Regions from separate parts of the Homo sapiens genome. Here regions 1, 3 and 4 are each linked to region 2. The links are contacts of gene promoters, found by promoter capture Hi-C in blood cells and fetal thymus (Javierre and others, 2016). All regions are on one chromosome and are shown on one strand. Each heading gives the region's core, a stretch centred on a gene start or on the middle of the fragment in contact. The rest is flanking DNA. Distances are from core to core; before and after follow the strand shown. Region 1 holds the start of SLC9B1 (solute carrier family 9 member B1). Region 2 holds the start of DNAJB14 (DnaJ heat shock protein family (Hsp40) member B14). Region 3 overlaps CENPE (centromere protein E). Region 4 holds the start of SLC9B2 (solute carrier family 9 member B2).

Region 1 (6,864 bases), core at 2,569-5,068, 3.1 Mb after region 2:
GTGGGAGGCCGAGGCAGGTGAATCACCTGAGGTCAGGAGTTCAAGACCAGCCTGGCCATGGTAAAACCCTATCTCTACCAAAAATACAAAAAATTAGCCAGGCATGGTGTGTTGGTGTGCGCCTGTAATCCCAGCTACTCAGGAAGCTGAGGCAGGAGAATCGCTTGAACCCGGGAGGCAGAGGTTGCAGTGAGCTGAGATTGCTCCATTGCACTGTAGCCTGGACAACAAGAGCCAAACTCTGTCTCAAAAAAAAAAAAAAAAAAAGGAAAGTATATGTTTATATGTTCATGTTCCTACCTAAGGCCAATACTTCTATATATTCCCTGGATTCCATACCCTCTCATTTTCTCAAAGACTTCACTCCTAAAATATACACACTCTCTCTTATACCATCATTTCCACCCCCCTCTATTGGATTATTCTCAGTCTAAATATGCTTAAGTGTCCTTATCTTTAAGAACCCTTCTTTGACCATACATATTTCTCTATTACCTCCATTTCTTGGCTCTCTTTCATAGTAAAACATCTTGAGATGTCTATAGTACTACGTCAATTTCTGCCCAGCCAGCAGTACTATGTCAATTTCTTGACACCACATTTTCTCTTTATTGTACTAGTCAAGGCATATAACTACTTAATGTTTCCAAAACCCAATGCACAGATCTCTTTATTTTATTTGACTTCTAAGCATGATTCAGTACTGTTGGCCATGTTTTGTAGTCTTGGCTTTTTTTTTTTTTTTTTTTAATTGAGATGGGGTTTCTCCATGTTGGTCAGGCTGGTCTGGAACTCCCGTCCTCAGGTGATCCACCCACCTTAGCCTCCCAAAGTACTGGGATTACAGGCATGAGCCACCATGCCCGGCCAGTCTCGGCTTTTATGTCACTGCACTCTTCAGATTTTCTTCCTACTTCATTGGCTATTCTTCCATCTCTTTTGTTGGCTTCTTTTCCTCTGCTTTACACTAGTCACTGCAATGTTATCGGTGAGCACACTTGCCCTAGGTAGTTTTCCATATGCTGGTGACTCCCAACTTTGCATCTTTGGTTCCTTGCACTCTGCACAGAGCTGAAGCCTCAAATTACCTTTGATTTCTAATAAGAATGTAAAAATTAAGGTAAGCAAAATAAAACTCCCCCCTCCCACCGCCCTGGCTGCTCCTTTTTCTTCCTTAGTCTTTTCCATTTGGTAAATGGCACAATCATCCACACAAGCTCAAGACAAAAATTTAGGGGCTAGAGGTGACTCCTTTTTCATCACCTCTATATTCAAAACATCACAAAATCTGTAGGCTCTGCCCCCAAAATAGAGCTCACATACATCTACTTCTCTGCTATTTTATCCCAAACTTGTCATTCCTCTTTGGATTTCTGCAATTATCTTCTGCTATAGATCTTGCTCCCCACCCAGTATGATTCAGTCATCACATAATAGGCAGAACAAACCTTTTTACAATGTAAATCAGATCCTATCACTCCCTCCAACTCACTACTGGTTTCTCTTTACACTTTAAATAAATTCCAAACTTATTCCATGGGTAGATTTCCATGGCCTATTCAAAGCCTTACATGATTTGGCCCCTACCTATCCCTCCAAGCTCATCCTGTACCACTTTCTCTACATTTTAGCTTCAGTGGTCTTGATGATGTTCCTGGAAGGAGCCAAGTTCTTTCCTTCCTTAGGGCTCTTGCAATTGGAGTTGCCTTTACCTGTAGTGCGCTGATCCCAAATATTTCCATGGTTGGTTTTTAAAAATATCACTAAGCAATCAATCTAAACTAACCCCTCCCCCAGTCTTAAGGAAGACCTTTACAGTTTTACTTCTTCACTGTGCTTACTATTATCCAAAATTCCTTGCTCATATAGTTTACCTATTTTCTATCTTACACTCACTAGAATTTAAACTTCATAAGAACAGCGATCTTGCTAGTCTTTCTTACCATTGTATTCACAATGCCTAAAACAACGCCTGACAAAGTAGGATATTCTTTAAAAAATACTTAATGAATGCCTTTCCCTAAGCAAGTCACTTGACTTCTCTACTTAACTCACACTGGTGAGTTTACTACTGCTAGACTAAGCTCTGGATCCAGGAAAAACAAAAGTGGCTAAGGTATGGCTTCTTCAGAAGCTCATCCATTCATTCCCTCAAAAAATATTTATTGAACATATATTACACTATGTTCCAGGTACTATTCAATCTCAGTGTTTAGTAAACACCACAGTAACATGGGATTTGGTTAACCAACAGAAGTGTTTAAACAGGATGAGTACAAAAATAAGTACAAAATGAGAAGTACTATAAAAACGATACTTTATATGTTACAACTATAGCACCCACCTATTTCCTTGTGTCTAGTAATTGGCAGGACCTTATGACAAGAGCCAACTGAAAAACAGCAGTATAAATTCTGGTACTCTAAAAGCCCAGACTTCACCACTGTGCAATATATCCACACAACAAAACTGAACTTGTACTAACTAAATCTGTATAGAATTTTAAAAAGTAAGTTAAAAAAAATTCTGGTACTCACAGGGGACAATACCTATGAATGCCCTTTTCATAGGCACACAGTGACTAAAATATTTGGGGCATGAATTCTCTAGGGGTGACAATAATAAGTGTCATTTTTCATGCTTCTGTTGCACACATAATTATATTTATCTCTAAGGAAAATCAGAGAGTGGGGTGTGGCCTCCCTCAGTGCCACCTGGGCCAGTTGTCTCCCCACATCACCAAATCTGTTATTTCACAGGCTCTAGGACACCCATAGAGGGGGAGTGAGGGACCTGGTATGGTCCCGTGAAGAGCTCTTGTAACACTACTGATTGATGTGACAGACACAGTATGTGTGCAACTTTCCTTTTTCCTTCAAAAGCACTGGTCTAAAGCAGGGATCCCCAACCCCTGGGCAGCAGACAGGTACAGGTTTGTGGCCTATTAGGAACAGGCCACACAGCAGGTGAGCAGGGCTAGAGGATTATGCCTGAGCTCCAGCTCCTGTCAGATGAGCAAAGGCATTAGATTCTCATAGGAGCACAGACCTGATTATGAACTGCGCATGTGAGGGATCTAAATTGCGCCTTCTCAAGAGAATCTAATGCCTGATGATCTGAGATAGAAGAGTGTCATCCCATCTTGCCCCCCACCCCAAACTGTCTTCCATGAAACTGATCCCTGGTGCCAAAAAGGTTGGGGACTGCTGGAAGTGCTTGTCCCCTGGGTTAAAGCCAAGAGGAGTAAACAGGATTAAGGGGCGTGGATGTGGGTGGGTGGGGGAAGAGAGCTTTCTCAGGATCGGCAACCAATCCCAGAATCTCCAGTCGCAGGAGCATGTATGTGAAGGTTTATTTGCAGGGATCCACCGTTTGTAAAATAGTACACGCTTAATAAAATTAATTTTGAGGTCAATCTTAACTGACAGATCTCTTCTTTCTTACTGGCGAGTATTTGTAAAATAAGAAAAACAGGAGGAAAAGAGAACAAACAAGAGAGATGTGGGATGACGGAGTAAGGAAAGGAGTCACGGAGAGGAGAGACAATGTCTGTGGCTGTTCCCTCAGCGTCTGGGAGAAGAGCCCAAGAATCCCATTGAACTGAGGGGGAGGAAAGGCCCTCCTGCGGCCTACCGCAAGGAAACGATCGCGGCAGACCCGGGACTAGCGCCAAAGGGCTTGGAAGGGCGGCGTTAAGAAAAATGGGCCGTACCTACAACTTCTTTCGCAGCCCTCGCTGGCCCGGGAGCGGCCCAGGAGCCCAGTGACCGTTGCGTAAGCCACGCGCCACCCAGGTGGGCAGGGTGGTGACGCGAAAGCCCGGATAGACTTCCGCGCAGGGGCGGGGCGGGGCGAGGAGGCGGCAGCGCGTTTAAGTGACGTCTTGGCTGTCCGCGCCGGCAGAGGCGAGGGTTCTGGGGTTTCTGGGACTGTCTGGTGTGTTTTCTGTCTATTGAACCCTTTCCTTTCGACGTCTCTTCTGAATATTGACTCATCGGGTTGTAGAAATCCAGGGACAGAGTTGACATCACTGGGCATTTTAGCCAAAAAGCAGTGCTCGGGACTGCATGTGCCAGAAGTAAACTTGTCAAAACTCAGATTGTGTTTCCCCTAAAGTCAGCTTAAAGTGCAATGGTAGAAGAGCACGGTCTCTCCCCAAGACGGCCTGAGCTTAAACTGCAGCGCTGTCACTTGCTAGCTATGGGACCTAGGCAAATACATCGTCTCCCTGAGGTTGTCTTCTCATCTGTAAAGGACGCTGTGGTGGTGGTGTGAGAATAAATGAGACATGGCAAGTGTCTGGAACAAAGACGCTGTGTACAAAGTAAACACTTAATATACTGTTATCAGTATAAAACCTTTGTGAGTTTTTTTTTTTTTTCCGCATGAAATCTTATGTGGAAAGTTGTATGTGAAAGAAATGAAAGCGGAGCTGCGTTGATGGTGGGCCCAGAAGCTTTGGCCTTTCAGTCCCAAAGTTTCCAGTAATAGAATCCGCGCTTCCTATAAAAGACAAAAACAACTGTTATTGGAGAAAGTGTAAACTTCTTAGAAAGACAAACTGCCCTTTCCTATCTAATGTTTCTCCTGACACTCAATGTTTACTCTTGAACACTGTATTCCTTTTTGCCTCAGTGCGTTCTGTAAAGTTAATTCCTCTACCGGAGTGTTCTTTTTCTTAGTCATCATCTAAGATCTGATCCAAATTACCGTTCCTTCTTGGGTAACTTAAATACGAAATTATCTTTTTATTGGTTTTGTTGACGTTGTTGAGACAGGGTCTCACTCTATTACCCCGGCTGGAGTGCAGTGCGATCTAGGCTCCCTGCAGCCTCCTCCTCCTTGGTTCAAGCGATCCTCCTGCCTCCTGAGTAGCTGGGACTACAGGTGGGCACCACTACCCCCGGCTAATTTTTGTATTTTTAGTAGAGAGGAGTTTCACATATTGCCCAGGAGGACTTGAACTCCTGGACTTAAGTGATCTGCCCGTCTTGGCTTCCCACAGTACTGGGATTACAAGCGTGAGCCACCACAGCCCTGCCCTTTTTATTGTTTTTAACACCTTCCCTCCTTCAACGTGTTATAGACATCTCAGCAAGGATTTATTTTTCTTCCTCGTTTCAGGAGAGTAGACAGGGTTTCATGATTATAGGGTTAAGGAAATGTTTTGTACTCATGAAAAGGAAATGTTTTGTACTCACAGGAAAAGCAGGTAGATCCCTAAAGATAATGGGAGTTGGGACAAATGGTAAACCTGGGAAGGAAGACCTTTGCTAGGAGTCTGTTTGCCTCCAAGGCACTACTCTTATGCTCTAGAAGGAATGGGCTCCTGGAGAGGTAAGTGCTTTAGGGTCCATGTAAGGAAGATGGAGCGCACATCAACAAATGGAGTTTTGGAATTCTCACCAGGCCAGAGGGCTCAGGCTGGATTTGAGTCAGTCAACTATAAATATAATATTACGTACTCCCCAAATGCCATGAAGCAATTCCCACTTGTTACAGAGAGGTACATAAATGATTCATATAAAAATATAATGTTCTGAGACATTAAAAAAATACAGTGGTTCTTTGGGAGACAATATAATGAAAATTTACTAATAAAAAACATTTAAACAATCATCTGATAACCTTTCTTATAAAAATTAAGTTTTAAAAATAAGTAAATTGATTATATTTGCAACAAAGTCATGGAAAGCAAAAGCTTTTGAGGAATAAGGAGAATCTTAACTGAGAGCAATTTTTTAAAACTATACATGACATGATAAAAAAAGTTTTAACACTTTCTACATAGTTTCATACTTCTGAAAGTACTTCAATAAAAATATTTAGCCAATGATCTATTTAGTATGATTTCAGTGCCAACTTTCTTTTCTAGTCTTATCTCTAATTCTCTTCATCAATCTCAAGTGCCAATCACTTTCTATGCTCCAGGCTTTACTGTTTTCAAAACTTTGCTAATATGCCAGCCTCCCACACTAGTTGTTCCCATCTTCACCTTACTCCCTAATATTACCCCATCCATCCAGATCCTCTCCATTCTTGAAGGTCTAGTTCAAGTATCAGTTCCTCTAAGATTTCCTCAACTTCTACACTAAAAACACTTTTGAATTATTCACTTGGATTATAGCTATTTGTACATATCTTATTTCCTTCTAAGGTTCTTAAAGGCAAGTATCATGTCTTATTCATATTTGTATTCCTCACATTGTCAATTTTCCACTAGAATCAAGTTCTATTGAAAACCAAGCCCTTGAATATCTTGTTCATCACTGTATTCCCTAGTATCTAGCACAAGACCTGGCACACAGTAGGCATGTTATAATATATTCTGAGTGAGGGAGTAAATGGATTTTAAAACAAGCTCCATGAAGGCAGGGATTTGTCTGTTTTATTCATTGCAAAATGAATATCTGAATATAAACATGAAGGCTTAGCATTCATTATATACAAAAAAATTCTTCAATCTACATAGCATCATAAAAGCCAAATATGAAATACTTATGTTGCCTTTCACCCAACAAATTCAGTTGATGATATATCTTTCTGAAAATAATACATCCCCCAAAACTGCAGTACAATTTTAAAGAAAAATAAAATACATGTTTATATTAGTTTCAGTTTTCTTGTTTGTATTTTTCTGTGTTCTAAATTTTTTGCAATGAAAATGTGTTACTTTATAATCAGAAAAAAATACTATTTTTAAAGAATGTAGTGGATGAGATCATTTGCAAATGTTTACCTGAGGAAATTTTGAGGACATCAAGATCAATCAAGGTGATTGGGAGTTAATACCAGACAGAAATATACTGTCCTTGGAAATATGACACTTCTTTCAGGGACTGAATTATGTCCTTCCCCACACAT
Region 2 (6,396 bases), core at 3,757-6,256:
AGCTCCATGAGGACAAGGACTCTGTCTTACTATCCACTGAATTCCCAGTTCTTAGAATATTGTCTGGGACAGAAAAATGTATATTCAGTAAAAATTTGTTGAATAAATCAAACTCCATTTTATAGATGAGGAAATTGAGGTTCGGAAAGATTAAGCTATATATCCAAGGTCACATCATTATTAAATTAAGATTCAAACCCTGAATCAGTATTCTTTCTTCAACTGTAATATCTGAAATAATTTGGCTACTAGCTGAAATTTGGAAATCATTTTTGTAACACTTCAGTTGGTGCTATAGAAATAATTGTTTTGAATGTATAATTTGTACTTGTCACTAAATTTCAATTAAGTCAGAAACACAAAAGACTGAAATTATCTTAAAAAGAATATGTTGGATAATACTCCAGATGTATAATGACAATTTTAAAAGCTACTTTTTAAACCATTTTAAGTAAGACAAAAAGAGACAGAACTTTGTATTTTTTATTAGATATAAATTTTAAAATAATGTAGCAAAAAATTAGGAAGAAAAAGGACTGTTTAAATTGCTATTGTGCAGATAGATGCTGCAAATTATATACTATTCAATACATAATTTGGATTATCATACTTATCCGTTCATTACAGTAGATGAAGAATGGCCTTTTTTGAAGCTGTAAGCCACCAATTGATTCAAATTACTACAGTGTTCCTGAAAACAATAAAAATGCTTTTCTCTTAAAAAAAAAAATCTACAAACTATTTCCCAATTATTATGAAATTGCAATGCAAAGCATTAAAACAGATTGTACCCCTCTCTGAAAATCCAGAACATATCAATAACTCAATAAATGTACAGTTTATTCAGAAACTACAGTTACTGAGTTCTGCTTACTGACATTTTTTCTAGAATATTTATATTTTCTATGTGGTAGCTATTCATATATATCAATACTTTAAAATATTTGAAAGTTGTACAACTGAATTCACTTAGAAGTCCACTGCAATAAGTAAACTGTAAAATAATATTCTCAACTAAAAACATGGAAAGAAACAATATCCTAGATCCATTTGGGGATTAAGTTTTTTGTCAAGAAAAACTCTTGCCAATTTCTGAAAGTGTCTTATGTATCAGACTTCCTACCTGGCAAAAATAAAATTTTAAGAGGACAAAAATCCTGGAATCTAGCAGGAATTTAGTCTCATGTTTTACCATGTAAGAATAATGGAAATCAAAATGTGATCTTTTCTTTTGCCTCTCTTAGTTTAAGCATATCCAGACGAACATTCAGTCAACTTTCTGAGTTATAAGAATTTGGTGGTGGACTAGTATAAGTGAAATTCAGGGCTAAAATTTTAAAATCTAATTGTAACCAATAGCTTCGACTTCCTTCTATATGAAATATTTTATCAGGATCTCACACAAATGTCCTAGATCTTTCTCTCTCCTGAATTCTTAAATTGTACCAATAAACATCTTCTAGAATGTTCTATATAAAATACACTTCTCTGAGTACTGGCATATAACTTTATTTCAGCTCACATAAATCCTGTGATGACATCTTCACTTTACATATAACTAAAGAAGGCTCAGAGGAGTTAAGTAATTTGTCACTGGTGAAAAAGGAGTCAGAGAAAACATCTGCATCTGAACTAAGGTTTTTGGACTACACAGTTATCCCCTATCACTTTATTTGGTAATCACATACTGCCTTACATTTGTACTACCAACTTTCACCCTTACATTTCTTAATTTTTCCAACATTCATGTCCTTAAGAGCAACAAACTGTGTTGTGCTTTGGTATCTTATAATATCTTTTAGGAGATTTATTCAAATTGTTTGCATGACAGAAGCATGATAGTGTGTACATTTGGGTGGGTTTTAAGAATTCTCAGAGCTTCACACTTGTAAAATGGGGATGACACCAAAATTAATTGAGTGCTTACTGTTAAATGCTTTACCTGTATTAACCCATTTAATCCTCACAACAGCACTATGAGATCAGTACATTGTCTCCATTTTACAGACGAAAAAGCTAAAGGCTAGAGAGGTTCTCTACCCTGCTCAAAAATAAGGTTACAAGCTAGTAGGTGGAGTCAGACTTCAAAAGCCAAGTTATTCTGTCTAGACTGCCTACTCACTTAATGTTAAAACTGTCCCTCTAGGACTAGATAATGACTAAATGAAATCATATTCAACAGTAGGGGAGGATTCAAAAATAATTAACTCCTGGCAATGATTTCTTGAATATGACAGCAAAAGCACAAAAAAACAAAGCAAAAATAGAAAAATGGCACTACAACAAACTTAAAAACTTATGTGCATCAAATAGCACCATCAACAAAGTGATGAAAAGGCAACATATAAATAGGAGAAAACATCTGCAAATCACATATCTGATAAGGGGTTAATATCCAGAATAAATAAGGAACTCCTACAACTCAACAAAAAAAAAACAAGTAATGTGATTTAAAAATGGGCAAAGGACTTGAACAGACATTTTCTCCAAAAATGGGATATTATAAAACTAGCCAATAAGCATATGAAAAGATGCTCAACATCACTAATCATCAGAGAAATGCAAATCAAAGCCACAATGAGATATCACCTCCCACTCAAGGATGGGTACTATCAAAACCAACAAAAACAGAAAATAGGTGTTGGCAAGGATGGTGAGAAACTGAAACCCTATGTACTGTTCGTGGGAAAGTAAAATGGTGCAGGCGCTACAGAAACTGTATTGTGGTTCCTCAAAAATTAAAAATAGAATTACTGTATGATCCTACAATCCCACTTCTTGGTATCCAAAATAATTGAAAGCAGGCTCTTTGCATATCCTTGTTCATAGCAGCATTATTCATAATAGCCAAGAGGTGAAAGGAACCCAAATGTCCATAGACAGATGAATGGATTAACAAAATGTGGTGTATATATACAATGGAATATTATTCAGTTTTTTTACTGTAGCTTTTTTTTGGTCTTTTTTTTTTTGTTTTTTTGAGATGGAGTCTCGCTGTGTCGCCCAGGCTGGAGTGCAGTGTTGCCATCTCGACTCACTGTAACCTCCATCTCCCGAGTTCAAGCGATTCTCCTGCCTCAGCATCCCCTAGTAGCTGGGATTACAGGCATGCACCACCACGCCTGGCTAATTTTTTTGTATTTTTAGTAGAGATGGCGTTTCATCATGTTGGCCAGGCTGGTCTCGAACTCCTCACCTCAAATGATCCGCCCGCCTCGGCCTCCCAAAGTGCTGGGATAACAGGCGTGAGCCACCGCGCCCAGCCTAATCAGTATTTTTTTAAAGAGGAATTCTTCACGTTACAACATAAATGAAACTTGGGAACATTATGCTAAGTGAAGTAAGACAGTCACAAAAAGATACTGCATGAATCTACCTATCTGAGGTAACTAAAGTAGTTAAATTCACAGAAACACAAAGTAGAATGGTAGTTGCCAGGGTCTTAGGAGACGGGGCGGTAGGGAGCTGTCTGATTAGTACACAGTTGTGTTGTAAGATGAAAAAGTTCTGAAGAGTCCTTGCACAACAATGTCAATATACTTCACTAATGGACTGCACACTTAAAAATAGTTAAGACCGTAAATTTGGCAGGTTTTTAAACCACAACTTAAAAAATTATTAACTCTTTTCTTTCATTTTATTTTCCTGTCCTCATGGGTATAGTGTTAGAAGGCAATGTAATGGAAAGGATAGAGAGAAAAGCAAAGAGCACAGGGCTTCAACGACGTAGAGAAAAAAATTTAAGAGACAACAAAACAAGTGGCCCCATATTTTCATTAATAATTTTCTACAATTAATTGAATCTATCGATAACTTTCTTCTTAACCTGGAAATACTAATGGCAAGGCAACAGTGTAGCGGTTAAAGGCCTTTTCGAGTCTGAAAGTTCAGCTACTATTCTGACTTTGCTACTAATTGTTGTGTGACCTTGGGTAAGATACTTTCATTCATTCGCTAATTCATTCATTAATTATCAGAAAGTCTGTTTCCACGTGGGTAAACCTGGTCAAATGAATCCTGCACCTCTACACAGAATTGTTCTGAGGAATAAATGAAATAATCCATGCAAAATGTTGGGCACAACTATTGGCACTTTGTGCTCAATAAATGTTGGCTATTATTACTCCGAAGCCTATCGAGTAGGAAAATAAATAAGCTGACTTCAACTAAAGGAAACCCAGTACCATATTCCTCAGAGATTTGGTTCGTCGATAATCATGGTGTTATCAAATCAGATACTCTTCAGCAATCATTACTGACTCTTGACCATTCTTGCCGAAAGTGTGCTCTTCTCTTTTAAAGGAACTCTCTCCCAGGGAAAAGCAATGTCATCTCAGGTATTCGATGTTTGCTTTGGGAACAGTTTTCTACAGATCTCAGAAACATGGAATCTGAGATTAGCCACTAGAGTACACCATTCCTCTCACTTCGATAGGGGCCTAGGCCTTATGTAGGACTGAGAATGGGGAGGGAGGGGGCCACATAAACAACACAGATACAAATAAAGCCTCACTGTGGTAAGACGGGACCAGACAAGTCTCCTCCAGGGAGAATGAAACCCGGACATTTAGGACAGCGGAACGCGGAGCCGGCGGGCAGGCGGGTGCAGAGGAACCTCGCGCAGCATTCCCCGAGCCCCAGCCCGGAGCCGGGGCTGGGGCCAGGGCGGGGGTGTGTCGGGATGCTCCCCACCGGGCCTGGGGCTGGGGCTGGCTCAGACAGGCCGGGGGCCCCGCAGGCCTCCAGGAGGGGCCGAGGTGGGGGCAGGGGCGGGCTACGCGGTGGTCTGGGGATTGGGCAGGAAGAGAAGGGACGCTGAGGTCTCACCGCGGGCCGAGGGCAGTGGGTAGAGCTTCTCGGCCTTCTGCAGGAAGCGCTGGGCCTTCTCGCGGTTGCCGGCGTTCAGGGCCTCCCGGGCGATCTCGACACATTTCTCAGCCTCATCCCTGTTCCCCTCCATAGCTTGCTCCTTCTTCCGTTTCCTCCGGCAGCGCAGCTAAGAAGGGCGGAAGCCGCCGCCGCGGAGGAGGCGAGGCGGGACCGGCTGGGGGCGTGCGGCGGCAGCGGGGAGGAGCGCAGGGGACCGCGGCAGCGGCTGCGACGGCCCGGGCGGACGGGCGGGCCTCGCAGCTCCGCCTCCTCACGGCGGCCTCCCCGCCCCCCGCGGGCCCCTAGGGCGCGATCCGCATCCGTCCCGGCCCAGGACCAACCTCCTGGGCCGGGGCGTCCGAGCTGACTCGGTGGTCCGCGCACGGCGCCAGCAGGCTCGAAGCGGACCTGCCCGGGAGGCGGACGATAGCAGCCGGGCTGCCCATCGCGGGGAGGGGTTCCGCCCGGGACCCGATTGCCGGCATTGGTAGCGCCGTGCCCTGTGACCTCCAGGCGAGGCCCTCGCAGCTCAGGCCAGGAGGACAGGGTCCGGGAAGGGGACACTCGTTTTCAGTAAAATTGCCAGGACTTGGAGGTTCCGCCTCTGGGCCCCTCAAGCGAGGGAGGATGCGGTCAGGTGAGGACCAAGGTGTCAGTCCAGTCTCAGCACTTCCGGGACACGTTAGAGCGTCGTTTGAACCTAATCTTAGGGCTTGTATGGCAGCCTTATTTCAGCTACATTTTTTCTGACCCGGATGTCTGGCTATCCAAAGTACAAAGCAGTTTAATTTGTAGCTTGCAACGAGTGGTGCAGATCGACCTTAATCCTGTGTAGCCAAAACAAGGCAGGAATCAGCCCCTCAGGGGCTGCCCTAACGAAAGCAAACTTTTGATTTCACCTTTTCCGTCCCATTTGGATAACATTACCACTTGGAAGTACCGTGTCTTGTTAGTCTTCGCGGTGGGGGTGGGGGGAATGTTTGCTATGTGCAAATTTTTTAAAAAAAAACATGACAAACTGTCAAAATGACCTGCTCAACCCAACCACAAGGTAACAATTTTTACATAATGCTGTGAGCCAAGCTGTTAATTCTGCTAACTACCATAACTCGGTACTTTCAAATAAGAAACCCTGCTTCTCTTCGATAAAATGGAGATAGTATATCCCCAATGATGTTACTGAGTACTTAACAACTTCAGACTTCAAAGCAGGGCCTGGCACGTAGCACTATTATCTTTAAAGTTTAAATTCGGAGTTCATTCTGTGGATATACAGGACATTCCTACCTATTCTCTCCCTCCCCAAGTCCACCATGCTAACAGCATACTAGTGCAGTGCTGTCACACAGCAAGCGAAGCCAATGTACAAACTGAAATGGTCACACTTAGCCTAAGAAACTGACAATCCCACTCCAGCTCCTGCCAACTTTTTAAATTAAAACTTTAGTAGCTCATATAACATTAAAAAAATATACTTGGGCTATCTCACTTTGTTGATCTACAGATTTGACAGTTCAGTCACAAAGA
Region 3 (6,894 bases), core at 765-3,264, 3.2 Mb after region 2:
AAATCATTTAATACAAAGCCTGTTTTATAACAAGGTGTTGACTGACTCATGGGATTTATTGAACAGAGTACACTGAACAGTGTCAGTTGTTTACTCGTGATCCCGTGGCTGACTGAGAGCTGTGTCTTGCCGCCACTGCCCATGATCACAGTAGAGTATTGCTATCTTATGAAGAGATCAGAATTCAAAGTAAAGTTTTCACTGAATGCGTATCGCTCTCACACCATCCCTAAAGTTGAAAAATCTCAAGTTGAACCATGACAAGTTGGTGACCATCTGTGTATATTCTATTGGTTCTGTCTCTCTGGAAAATCCTAAGACAGATTTTGGTAACAGGAGAGGTTCTAGAGGAACAAAATTTTAAGGATGAGTTTCCTGAGTTGGTTTTGGGGTTCCTGGAATTGGCTCTTAGTCTGATTAGATTTGAAAATGCTAAAGGCTCTACTCTTTGAGATGGGGTCACACTCTTGAACAGGTTGGAGTGCAGTGGCACCATCATAGCTGACTGTAGCCTTGAATACCTGGGCTCAGGCCATCCTCCTGCCTCAGCCCTCCAAATTGTTTTTTTTTGGTAGAGATGAGGTCTCAGTATGTAGCCTAGGCTGGTCTCAAACTCCTGGTCTCAAGTGCTCCTCCTGCCTCAGTTTCCCAAAGTGTTGAGATTACAGGGATGAGTCACTGCGCCCAGCCTGGCTCTCCTTTTAATAGTACAGAGAGCACTGATTGTCCAAGAAATGAACTGTTCATAGAGGTATGCAAAATGTCTGCATTGGATACTCCTAATCAACCACTTCTTAGAGGTGAGGAACTTAAGTGACTCTATATATAATACTTTTTTTTTTTTTTCCGAGACAGAGTCTTGCTCTGTCGCCCAGGCTGGAGTGCAGTGGCATGATCTCGGCTCACTGCAACCTCTGCCTCCTGGGTTCAAGCGATTCTTCTGCCTCAGCCTCTCGAATAGCTGGGATTACAGGCACACACCACCATGCCTGGCTAATTTTTGTATTCTAGTAGAGACGGGGTTTCACCATGTTGGCCACGCTGGTCTCAAACTCTTGACCTTGTGATCCGCCTGCCTCAGCCTCCCTAAGTGCTGGGATTACAGGTGTGAGCCACTGTGCCCGGCCCTATAATACTTTCAAATATTTATGGAAAACTAAGAAATATACCAATGTTGGTTGGTTGCTTCTAATATTGTTGGGCAAAATTATTTAAAAAAAAAAAGGATGACTTCAGGGATTCAAATTCATGGCTCAAGCTCCACATAAGTAACCTAAGAGCTTATAGGCGTGCCCTGAAAGAGGATCTTCTCTCCTGTAGACATGAGGCTAAAATTGCTGAAAATCAAACACCAGTCTTCATCATTTGATTGGTGCAATTACAAAAGGCCTCAGTGTGTCTACTGGTAAAATAAGCCACAGTGACTGGGAGAGTGAGATTCTATAAGTTGGGATGGGGACGTGTGGGAAGACCCTGAAGCCAGGAACATTGAGTTTTTTTTTTTTTTTTTTTTTTTCAGTTTCACCCTGTTGGCCAGGTTGGAGTGCAATGGCATGATCTCGGCTCACTACAACGTTGACTTCCAGGGCTCAAGTGATCCTCCCACCTCAGCACCCCCGAGTAGCTGAGACTATGGCCATAAGCCACCATGCCAGGCTAATTTTTGTATTTTTTGTAGAGACGGGGTTTCACTATGTTGCCCAGGCTGGTCACGAACTGCTAGGCTCAAGAGTCCCACACCTCAGCCTCCCAAAGTGCTGGGATTACAGGTGTGAGCCACCATGCCTGGCCAGTTCCTACATTCTGATGAGTTTTTTTTTTTACCAGCTGTAGTGGCCTCTCCAACCTCATTGGGGTTGGTAATGGCCTTTCCACCTTTGTCTGAAGGGTTAACCCTGCATTGCCTGAGGAAATAATAATGGCCTCCCCTGAGGCAGCTGCCAAGCAAGACAATGCTGATTCTCCTCAGGACCTACCCCCACCACCCCTCTATGCTCCTAGACCTATAACTAGACTCAAGTCCCAGCAGATCCCTAATGTGAGGTACAAAGTGTGGCCCATGAGGAGCTGCATCACAATCAAAAGAACCACTTGAGTTTTCTAACTTATATAAGCAGAAATCTGAGAAAAATGTGTGGGGATATTAAGGGTGTGGGATAATGGTGGCAGCAAAAGGGACAGAGCTTATTTGAAGAAATAATGGCCACAAACTTCCCAAATTTGAGGAATAAAATGGACACCCAAATTCAAAAGTTAAGCAATATTCTACTAGGCTGGCTACCTGACAACTAGATTTTTAATGGCTTTAATGTAGTTTTATCAATCAGGTAAACAACCACTACTTTGGGTTACTTTTGTTCAGTGGAGAAGCAGACATAAAGAATCAAACCTGCAGGCATGTTAGTGTTTTGTTTGGATAAGGGTGGAAAGCAGAAGACAGACTCTCAAGGTACAGGTCTGGGGGAAAAGATTTTAGGAAGGGATAGTTTCCCCTTAGTCTTTGTTAATTCCTTTGGTGGTATGTTAAGATACGGAGAAATATCCAATCCACAGACTTTGAAATACTAGATATGATGCAATCAATAATCTCTCCCTTTGAATGAATCTTACCAAAGAGCCGAGAATGACTTGAAATCACTTTACCTCTGTTCTATAACCTAATGCAACTTGTTTTAAGTGGTTTTTCAAAGTCATATGGTATAAAAGTAATATCAAATATCCTCTAAAACCATAGTTCTTAGATTTTTACAGGATCACGGGCCCCTCTAAGAATATGATAAAACAAAGTATAAACCCCAGTATCCCCTCCCCCCAAATAAATCCACACAAAAAAGTTCATAAAAAATTTCAAAAATTTTACAGATTACAAGAAGTCCATCCATATATGCTTTATCTATCTGTGGGGACTCCAGGTTTAGAAAACTTTACTTTGATAAAAACTCTGGTACTGTTTCCTTATGTCTACAATGAAGAGGTAGAATAAATGATCTATAGGTTCCTCCAGGCTGGGAGTGAGGGGCAATGAAAAACAAAGTCTATAATAAACCAACCAATTTAGAGAGTTTGTATAGGGATTGGGATAGGTAGGTTACCAGAAATGTGAGAAAGAACTTCTGTGGTTATTACAGTAAAAGGAATATTAGAACTGGAAAGTTAAGAGGACATAGCCTCTGCTATCCTTTAAGAATTTAAATCCAGATCCAGAAAACTTGTGTATATTTTCATAGCAAAATACTGAGTCAACAAGAGAGACTACCTCACCAAGAAACCATTAACATTATATAGAAGAGCGGTGATTCAGAACTACTAAACATTTATTGAATGTGTAAGGTATTAAAAACATTTACAATTTTGTTAATAAAATGATGTTTTATATTAATGTATGTATTATGCTTTGGAATATGCTAAGTCATGTAGATAACTTTACATTTCTTTCAATAACTTTATTCTTTACAAAATATACAAATAAATAAAACAATTCAACTTTTAAAAGTATTACCATATGCAAGAAGAAGGTATTGCTATCACCATTCTAAATTACCACAATGCATTCATTTCCTGTTCCCTTATCTTTCAACTCTAGTGGCAAAGTAAAGACTGAATTGAAATTAAGCTGCACTACAACATCATTACCAGGGATAGACACATAAACAAAGTCATTTCCAAATAAGGAATGCTGGATCTCCAGAGAAGTGACAAAGAGGAGTCTACTGAGTTTTGCACTCAGGCACATCCTTGCCTGAGGAGGCGTGCCAAGGACCTGGCTGAGAATCCACACTCTCTGCTCCTGCATTTTGCACCTCTGAGAAAGAAAATGAAAACAACATTCATCCTATTACAAAAATACACAAAAACCAAGCACAGCTGGAAGTGGAAAGGAGGTTAAGACAGGAGAGATGTGAAGAATGAAAAATGGCAACGTGATTCACCGTGTTTGGTCATGAAGATGGTGTATTTCACCTCAGAGTTGGAGAAGTTTACTCCCCATTTTGTCCTAAAATGAACTATTAGACAAACCATAGTTAAACTGAGAGGTAATAAAGTTTTATTTGGAATTCTTCAATTTGAAATTCAAAGTGAATCAAACACGGGCTGATTGAGTTTTCTTTTGTCCTGTTTTTCAAAATAAATGGTGTGCTAAACAAATAGTATTTTAGAGAATATTTAATCATCTTTGGAAAGCTTTCTGTGAGCCTTTAAAAAGGACTTTAGCTGCATCTATTTGCTTATAAACAATATTTATTTTACAATTATTATATTTATAAAAGTAAATCTACCATAACTGGTCTTGGCAATTACCTTAGTTTAAGGTAATTTAGATTACCTTTTATAATTAAAAGTAAAAACTCACATTTATTTTTTTAAAGACTGGTATTAATTCAAGCTGGGACTATCTCATTTAATTCTGAATTGGTCAGTTTTTGATTTATGTATTCTTCTAGGCTACTCTTTTATTTATCTAAAAACAGTACCAGAGAGATCCACATATTAAAAAAGGACTCAAACATTTTTATTTGCAGTTTGATGAATTCACATTATGCATATGCCTCTGGCACTAGCAGACAAAATCAAAAGGTGATTACAGCTGGGTGTGGTAGCTAGCATGCACCTGTAGTCCTTGATGCTTAGGAGGATTGCTTGAGCCTAGGAGTTCAAGGCCAGTTTGGGCAACATAGTGAGAGAGTTCCATGCAAGTGTTAGCTAGCCAATAGAAGGTCCTTAAATGTTTGTTAAATACTATTTAATGAAGAGAATATTTCAAACATGTTTTTATTCCAAATGTTTCTGTGCCTACCTATCTCCCTAAGAACACTTTTAGACTGTCAACTTGATCTAATTTTGATGTAGTTGATGAGAATGGATAGATTTTTTCTTAATCACAAAGTAGAGGTTTATAAACTCTGGCAAATAGTGCTCAAGGTTTTAAATGATTTGGCAACTGCCTTTCTTACTGTACAATTTTGTTGCTTTAGATTTCTACAGTTGCATAACAGGGTACCTCTGGTAGGGTAGGCAGACACACTGTCACAAAGGGCTGTGCACAGTAGATGCTATGTGGTGAGAAAGACTACAAGAAATGCCGTGTTACCGTTTCTCCTGCAAGTCCCCCCACTTCTGTGGACAACCTCCATGCAGAGCTGGGGGTGATCCTTGATACCTCCCCACTCCTTTGTTCAATCAGGTGCCTGGTGTTGCTGATTTTACTCCAAAATCTCTCCCGTCGGTCTACTTCTCTCCTTCTCTACTCCAAGTCCACACTACCATCATGTCTTGTTTAGACAACAGTCTAACTCCTGCTCCTATTATTTGCTGGTCACCTTAGAGACGAGGTGATGTTTTCAAAATGTATAACTCATGTTCTCCTGCCATTGCTTAAGATCTTTCAAAGGCTTCCTCTACACAATAAATGAAACAATTCCTTTATATAATTTATAAAAGTCCAGCATTTCTGGCTCTTATTTCTCTCTTTGGCCTCACTGACTTCACCCACACAAGCTTGTACTCACTGTGCTCTGACCACACCATATTTCTTTCAACTCTTCCCCTGGTCATGTTCCCACCTACCCTAACGCTGTTGCTGTTCCATCTGCCTGAGATGTTTTTCCCTCTGCTCTTTATTAAGATAACTCATGTTAACCTTTTAGATCTGATCTGTTTCCTTCCTCAATACTCCTCAAATACTTATTATATTTCTCATAGTCTTTTGTACTTGCACTGCTATAATTTCACTTTTTTTTTTTTTTAATCACTTGATTACTGTCTGTATCTTCCATGAGAATTAAGCTCTATGAAGGCAGGGATCATGTCTGGTTTTGCTTATCAATGTGCCACCAGGATCTAATCCTTAACACATAGTAGGGGCTCAAAACAATTTTATTGACTGAATAAATGAATAAGTAAATGATTCATCTATTATCTGGCTTGGGTAAAGTAAATATAATGCTATTGGATATTTTGGTCCATTGAATTGATAAGACTTTTCAGTAAAAGTTGCTTTTTAGGGTAGTATCTTCATGTCCTTGAGAAAGTTGCTTGTCTCTCTTTGGACGAAACTAAAGGCTTAAAGGGTAGACTAAAGACTTCACTTGGGGTAAAAGTGAATTGCACTTCACTGTGTGGGGTGCCTTGGAGAAATCAACTTTCTTACAGAGTCAGCAAATGAAGCCTGTCATTGTAGCTTACTCAACTAAATCATCTCTTATCTAAACTTGCCCTTTGGGATCACATATTAATGATAAGTTCCAACTGTTACCCTCTGATTTCCAAGTAACCAGTATATTTACTTACCTGGACAAAGGCCTAAACTTGAGTTATCAAAATAGCGAACTGGATGAGGTGATGGTAAAGACTTTGATCGGCTATCAAAAAAACAAGATTTTGGTGATTCCTTTGGCACAGGATCTTGTAAATTCCGTTCCTTGCATTGAGAGGGTGTAATTTGTTTCTTTTTAGAAGCTGTTCCAGTCACTTTAGGAGACTTTGGAGAATTCTCACAAGTTACTTGTTTGTGAGCCTCTCTTTTAAGGGTTCTTTCCTTCCAAGTTTTGACCTCATTGGAAAGATGCTGATTATTGCTTAAATGTGGGGGAAGAAAAGAGAGACTGTAAGACTTCTTGATTCTTAAGATGTATTCACATTTATATTTAAAAATTAAAAATAAATTGTGATGAAATATATATAACATAAAATGTACATTTTATCACATTTACATTTTAATTTCAACCTCATGCTTCCTGTTTTGACTATTTTCAAAGTTCAGAAAACAAAATGGATCTATATAAATTGAATAATATAGTAAGTTTCCATGATCATGGAGTCTTGAAAAGAAAGCTCTAAGTACAACATTAGGTTTTCAAATGAATCAATGATATAATCCAGAGTGGCTTATCTATT
Region 4 (7,137 bases), core at 1,374-3,873, 3.1 Mb after region 2:
CTGAGAAGCCCTGATGAACAGCAGTGATGAGGAACCTCTGTCTTACAAACTTTAGTTTCTATCTTTCTAGCTTCTTGTTACAGTGCAAAATCATCATAGACAATGAATGATCAGAACACTGCCTTTGTATTGAAATTTCTCAAAAATGTCCAGAAAATAACATTTTATAAAGTTAAAAATTAGTGCCAAGGTTTTCACTGCCATTCTTTTAGTCAACAGAAATTATTTGGATTGTAAGATTATGTATTTCCCCTCCTCTACCCTGAAGTTAAATTGTAATATTTGAATACTGAATGAAGAAAAGTTGGACTTATAAACGTTTGGTTGTTTTCCAAATTTCCACTCATGAAACAAAACAACAACAATAAAATATCACTACTATTGCTGCCTGGAGTTTCATTTCTGCTTTTTCTACTTGAAGAAATTCAAAATCTAACTCAAATGTCACCTTCTCAGTATTTCCTAACTCCAACATTGACAAACTGTCTCCCTCGTTTTCCTCTCTGATGATTCATTCATTCATTCAACAAACAAGAGCTATTAAGCTCTTGTTACGTCCCAGTCCTTGAGCTGAGGATTCAGAAGTGAACGGTCTTAAATAGTTCCTATATTCAGATCTTGTAATCTAGTTACAGGATGATAAAGGATGATAAATGATTCCTAAGCAATCACAATGAAATATGGTTAAGTTTCAACTTTAGACACATAACAACCCCATCCCTTAACAAGTTTCATTTCCTTTTTTTTCTTTTCTGAGATGGAGTCTTGCTCTGTCACCTAGGCTGGAGTGCAGTGGCACAATCTTGGCTCACTGCAACCTGTGCCTCCTGGGTTCAAGCGATTCTTCAGCCTCAGCCTCCGGAATAGCTGGAATTACGGGCGTGCACCACCATGCCCAGCTAATTTTTATATTTTTAGTAGAGATGGGGTTTTACCATGTTGGCTAGGCTGGTCTCGAACTCCTGACCTCAGGTGATATGCCCACCTCGGCCTCACAAAGCCTTAACAAGTTTCTCTGGTGTGATAGGCACAAGAGTAACAAAGATGACTAAGATGCAGTCTGCCCTTTAAGGGATGGTCAGAGACTGATATGTGTTTACCAAAATCGTTTACTCTTCTGCCTGGGTCCATAGTACATTTCCAGTCTCCCTTGCAGGTCAGTGTGGCATGTGACTGAAGTCTGGTCAATGGCATGTGGACATAAATAGTATGTGATTTCCAGTCCTCACCCATAAGAAACAATCCTCATGCAATCCTCTAGTAGCTTTTCTTTTTCTGTCCGTTGCCTGGAAACTAAGGACTCCAAGGTCTTAGGGGATAGCAAAGCCATAATATAAAAGGAGTTTGGGTTCCTGAATAATTGAGTAGAAGGCCAACAGCTGAACACGTGAATGGACTTGACATGAACGAGAAATAAGCCTGAACTATGTTTAGTTACTGAGATGTTTTACTTTATCTCTTACAGCAGCTACTGCTGTCTTAAGGTTATATTCTTCAGTCAATAGCATACGATGATTCTTAGCACCTCGAGGATGCTAACCCAGTCCACAAAGGCAACACCCCCTCTGGTTAATCTGAGAACTAAAATAAAAGCAAGCAAGAAAACCCACGCCAACACCTTACAACAGTAAACAGACACGCGCCCGTCACCGGGTGTACAAACAGAAAAGGCTGGGCCCCTCGCTCGCGTCTCCGGTCCAGCAGGCCTACAGGGTACCCGCCGCTGGCGCTGGGTTTATTTTTACCCTTAGTGTCTCTGGGGCCTCTCACCTGGCAGTCTCCGGCGAAGTCGACCAGGCTCCGTCTGAACGATTAGGAAAGGGGCTGTGGGGGAGGCGGCGGAGCCCGGTCTAGCCACCGCGCTCTGGGGTTCCCGATTCGCGCATCTTCCCAGGCTGAGCCGGGAGGCTGCGTTGACTGCAGATAAACGGTCTCAGGGCGCGGCACCGCGTGTAGTCGGCCCCGCCTTTCGCACGAACCCGCTGGGCGACACCGCGCAGGGAGGTCCGACCCGTCGGCGCCGGTACAGGCTCCGGAGTAAGCATGGGTTGGTCCGGGGCCCGCAGCGGCAGCCCCGTGTGCCCTCCGCCGGGTTTCAGGTCCGGCGGCGCGGGTGCAGAGCCGCGTGCGATGCCTGGTGCGCGTGGCTTCCCCCGGAAAGGTGGCGCCAGGCCGACCATGGGCCCACGTCCCGGGGCCTCGGAGCGGCACCGCGCGGTCTTTCAGCTGCTTATCCTCCCTGGGCGGGTCCGCAGGCTTCTGGGGCCAGGACCAGCGAGCTCCCGGGAAAGCTTCCCGGAAAGCTTACCCAGAGAGCGCGGACCCAGGCGCCGAGTCTTCCCGGAGATGACGAGACACCGCGAGAGGAGCACAGCGCAGGCTCCTCGGGACTCCGCGGCGCAGGCCGGGCAGCCCGTTACTTGTTTTATCGTTCCCGAAACCAACCTCTAAGTTGTCTATCAGTCCTCCACCTTTTAGCTGTACCTCTTAGAAGTGTCTTCTCAGCTGCGGTGGGAAGATAGGATTCTTTCTTAAGGTGACCAATTAAATGGCCGGATAAAAGACTTGTTCTGCCCCCCTTTATCGCTTAACACCTGCCCTTCTTGTTGTATTTTAGATTTTTAACCCTTCTATCAGCAGTGTGATTCTATTTCATTTAATTCTCATTTCATGTTTGTGTCTTCCTTTTCTCTGTATTTCCTCTTGTGTGTGTTAAGACGCGCGCACCCCTTACCTGTTTTTCACTCCTGTAAGCAAGTGCCAATCTTAATCACCGCTTTTCAAGCAAGGGAGATTATCCTCAAATTTCTCCACCAGTCAGAAACCATTCATTCTTGTCTCTCAGGTCCTCTTTTGTGATGAACCTATTGGATAGGTTCCATCCAATACCCTTCTTCAGATCATCTGAAATGATTATTTTCCTAAACGGAACTCTTCCTCTCCTAAAGCTTGTAAAAATTTCTAGTGACATTCAGCTTCCTCTTACCACAGGAATGACATATATTTTTCCTTTTAGTCATATGTACTTCATTAATATATCACCTGATTTGATTAACATGACTTTGGAGAACATTGAATTTTTTGGCTAGATTTTACTTCGTTTTTATTGCTGATAGTGTTTATAAAAATGTTTTATAGTTTATGGTCGGCTGTGAGAAAGACTAACTCAGATCATTTGTTAATGTTGGAGCCCATTTTGTAGAATTCGTTGTGCATTTATTTAAAATTTATTTGTTCATAGCTATACATATATTATACATGTATACCTGCTCACAGCATAAAGTATTTCATGACATACTTGTAAGAGTCAGTGTTCTATGAATTCACTAGAGAAGTTACAGCATTTTGATTATGATACACGAAAAGAAACCCAAGTCATTTAGCTTAACTCCTTAATTTCATAAACCAGAAAACTAAAATCCAAGATAGATTGGGTGACTTGGTCTAGATCACAAACCAAAGTTAGCCATAATTCGGTAGTGTAGTGCCCGGTCCAAAACCTCATAGATAATCTTATAATCAATGGACTCTTTCTGAATGCTAGTCAAAATGTCCTTTTGTGTGAATTTTAATGTACCGTCATCAACTGCATGATATTCTTCCCCATACACAAAGTGTTATCTTTTTGTTGTCCATTTCAGAATTTTCCATGTTAATATTAAAGTTCTAGGAAAAAAGGCTAAGAATCACTGCACATTTATTGAGTATCTCAGTGTGCATCATACCATTTGGTCATTTGAGGTTGCAACAAGTAAAAAACAAACATAAAACCCTTAAATTAAAATAAAAACAAAAAACTTTGCCCTGACAATGTTACAGAATTAACATCCATAAATTTACTTTTCTTGAAAAATTTATTTTCTTTAATTTCGTTTGTTTCCTGTTACATAATTTATATTTAAATTTACATTTATTTATCCAGAAACTATGTCCAAATTTTATGTCCTCTTTTCTGTTATCCTGGAGTTTGGTGAAGAAATCTGTACTTAATTTAGAAAAGAAATCCCTCTAACTGACAATATTGTTAGCTAACTATATATTTCTTAGGCCCATGTCAAATATCATTGCTTATTTTAATAAAGATTGTTTAGTTAGACTAAGAAAATAGTAAATAATAAGGGATGGCATCCGTTAAGTATAAACACTGGATTATTTTTCATAACATAACAGGTCAACAATATCGTTTTGAGGCTGAACTCCTTTACTCCTTTTACTGTAAGCTATTGAAGCCAAACTCCTTCCTACCTTTGTTCATTTATGATGGTGTAAAATTTTAAAATTAGGATCTACATACAGAACAATGCAGAATTATATAAAAATATTTGAATATTGAAAAATGAAGTGGAAATTATTATTATTATTTAGGTACAGGGTCTTGCTCTGTCACCCTGGAGTGCAGTGGCATGATTACAGCTCACTGCAGCCTCAAACTCTTGGGCTCAAGTAATCCTCCTGCCTTAGCCTCTGTTAACCATGCTGGTCCTGAACTCCTGGCCGCAAGTGATCCTCCTGCCTTGGCCTCCCAAAGTGCAGGAATTATAGGCATGAGCTACCATGCCTAGTCCTGAAATTACTATCTTCTTCCTTAACCCCCATCTCCCCCACAAAAAAACAAAAACTTCCTTTTTTCTTCATATTTACATTTTAATTGTATATGCTGCAATGGCCTATTTGTATCACCCCAGAGTCATGTGTTGACATCCTAACCTGCAATATGATACATTAGGAGGTGGGGCCTTTGGGAGGTAATCAGGTCATAAGGGTAGTGCCCTCATGAACAGGATTAGTGTCCTTATAAAAAGACACATGAGCGCTCGCTTTTTTTCTCTGCTCTTGCTATGTGAGGATACAGCAAGAAGAGGACCATCTGCAAACCAGGAAGTGGGCCCTAACCAGAAACTATATCTGCTGGCACCTTTATCTTGCACTTCCTAGCCTCCAGACTGAAAAATAAATGTTTGTTGTCTATGACACTCCATCTATGGTAATTTGTTATAGCAGCCCAAAGTGACTAAGACAGATGCTAACAAATCGAGATTTATTTTAAAAACTATTCTCCTGCTATGAGTTCAATATTTTTATTTCTTTACAATGATTTCAGAAGAGATTACAAAGAGATTAATATACTTAAAGAATCAGACTCTTGCAAACAGTGACATCATTAAAAAGAGCTTATTTTCATTAACATGTGATTAACAGGAAGGAGATGATTGGTGAGTTTTCTTCGTAACCAGGTTCACTGTGGATAGGAAGGGCCTGCCTTCCTTCCCACCATGGAGATCCTAAAATCACAAGCTCCAGCCTCCATCAATGATGACAGGGTTACCAGTTACATAAGCAGACTGCAGTGATAAACACAAGGAGACAGAACAATTAACCAGGTTTGATACAGGCTGTATTTTGAAATTTTCCTGTGACTAGGATAACTAAACAATTTACCCTTGTCCTAACAGGAAACCTCACTTAAACACTTAATTCAGGGAAATCCAAATTAACATTTGGTTGATTTAGAACTGCTGAGTGTCCTGTGATCTGGAACTAAATGGCCTCTGGCTGGTGTCTAAGCACCTGTCACTGTTAGGTATTTGGTCTCAGAATCCCCAAATTAAGGAACAGTGATGTATAGCCATTCCCCAAATTAGGATATAGGCTAAAAGCACATTTTCATTTTGAAACTCAGAACTATTCAAAACTAGCTAAGTTTTATGCCACTAATAAACTTTTGAACATAAGTGTATCAGTCATAAAATGGTCATATTAATGACCAGTTTTTTAAAAAAGACAGCATATATTTAGTTGATCAATTATAAGTGGATAATTGTAGGAGCTGAAGCACACTAAATGTGTTTTAAAAATTTACATGAATGATAATAACTATAATCCATTAAGCTATAAAAATATTCTATATTAGTTTCAGATATCCAAATCTTTATAAAACTAAGGAATTTAAAAAATAATTACTGGTTTATTCCCATAAATTTTTCATTTTCTAAATAAGGCTGAAGTGATCTTTTTGGTAGAAGTTTAAAAATCTTTTAACTTAAAATGGATAATAAAGACTCAAACAGTCTAAATTCATCTGAAGCCTGAAACAATGGAAGAGGAAGTAAGGATATCATAATGAATAGAGAAATTTTAAGAGTTCAATAGATAAAAGCTGATAATATACAGTAGGTGAACTAGGGAGTTATTAGTCACTTCACCAAAGAAATACCTCCAACTCCCCCAAGTTCTTTTAAAAGACAAGCTCTGTTACACATATGAACTCCTCTGGAAACCTCTAAAAAGCCAAAGGTACTTTTGTAGCACATTTCAAGCCACAACACTTCCAAATATCTTGTAACCTAAGCTCTGGCTAACTAAGGGTAATTTAGCTTATCAGCAGTACCCAAATCAAATGAGCTATTCTGAAGATACGGATTCAGAGAAATCACAAAGGCTCATGTGCTTCTTCATTAAACATTTGTCTATTAATTTCCCCAGCTATTAACAATTGTTGTTAATAGTTGGGAGAAGTTCTGAGAAGAAACTGCGCTGTCACGGAAACATTTCAATCCCTGTATTTGTCACATTCACCAACTATCTGGTGTGCACCAAGTTACTGGGAAGAGGAGCTATCAGTTGTTCCCTCCTCGCTCCCGCCTAGTCCCCTTTCCTTCCCTCTTCTCACACATTACAGTTCCTTGTTCCTGTAGTATTCAGAGACATAAAACAGAGGAGGACCTTCTTGTGCTCTATACCTTATAAGCATCATTTTTGCTTTCATCTTAAGCCATTTAAAAGTAAACAATAGTTATTAAGGAAAAAACTGTTAAACAGATGCAAAGTGGAAGAGATTAAATTAGGAATTTCCATACACGATGATGAACAAGTAAGAATTTTTAAAAATATTTATTTATTTTGAGACGGAGTCTCACTCTGTCACCCAGGCTGGAGTGCAGTGGCGCAATCCCGGCTCACTGCAACCTCCGCCTCCCTGGTTCAAGCGATTCTCCTGCCTCAGCCTCCCGAGTAGCTGGGACTACAGGCGCCCGCCACCACGCTCAGCTATTTTCTGTTTTTAGTAGAGACGAGGTTTCACCATGTTGGTCAGGCTGGTCTCAAACTCCTGAACTCAGGTGATCCGCCTGCCTCGAC

What was found. Contacts are between HindIII fragments. The CHiCAGO score rates a contact against its expected background, and 5 or more counts as called.
Region 1: the fragment with the promoter of SLC9B1 here is called in contact with the fragment with the promoter of DNAJB14 in region 2 in 4 of 17 cell types (non-activated CD4 T cells, fetal thymus, activated CD4 T cells and 1 more); the score reaches 7.2 in non-activated CD4 T cells.
Region 3: a contact is called between a fragment that was not itself captured here and the fragment with the promoter of DNAJB14 in region 2, in 1 of 17 cell types (fetal thymus). The highest score is 6.4, in fetal thymus.
Region 4: a fragment that was not itself captured here is called in contact with the fragment with the promoter of DNAJB14 in region 2 in 1 of 17 cell types (total CD8 T cells); the score reaches 5.2 in total CD8 T cells.

What each region holds. Positions count from the first base shown.
Region 1 is chr4:103,015,887-103,022,750 of GRCh38, forward strand. It overlaps SLC9B1 (solute carrier family 9 member B1), which reads right to left and starts at 3,819. Exons shown (of 12, transcript NM_139173.4): 1 at 3,713-3,819. SLC9B2 (solute carrier family 9 member B2) reads right to left here. Exons shown (of 12, transcript NM_178833.7): 12 at 6,367-6,864. RefSeq lists an enhancer at 3,660-4,160. The HindIII fragment of the contact is 6,332 bases long and covers 1-4,454 here.
Region 2 is chr4:99,941,612-99,948,007 of GRCh38, forward strand. It overlaps DNAJB14 (DnaJ heat shock protein family (Hsp40) member B14), which reads right to left and starts at 5,007. Exons shown (of 8, transcript NM_001031723.4): 1 at 4,828-5,007. The coding sequence starts at 4,960. RefSeq lists an enhancer at 4,391-4,440 and a silencer at 4,611-5,270. The HindIII fragment of the contact is 11,087 bases long and covers 1-6,396 here.
Region 3 is chr4:103,102,515-103,109,408 of GRCh38, forward strand. It overlaps CENPE (centromere protein E), which reads right to left. Exons shown (of 49, transcript NM_001813.3): 48 at 6,289-6,575; 49 at 3,297-3,802. The coding sequence ends at 3,708. Among named protein-coding and RNA genes, the nearest start is that of BDH2, 6.1 kb to the left of the region's middle. The HindIII fragment of the contact is 4,331 bases long and covers 1-4,180 here.
Region 4 is chr4:103,074,414-103,081,550 of GRCh38, forward strand. SLC9B2 (solute carrier family 9 member B2) reads right to left here and starts at 2,348. Exons shown (of 12, transcript NM_178833.7): 1 at 1,771-2,348. It overlaps BDH2 (3-hydroxybutyrate dehydrogenase 2), which reads right to left. Exons shown (of 10, transcript NM_020139.4): 10 at 3,179-5,342. The coding sequence ends at 5,289. RefSeq lists a silencer at 2,008-2,117 and an enhancer at 2,228-2,347. The HindIII fragment of the contact is 645 bases long and covers 2,302-2,946 here.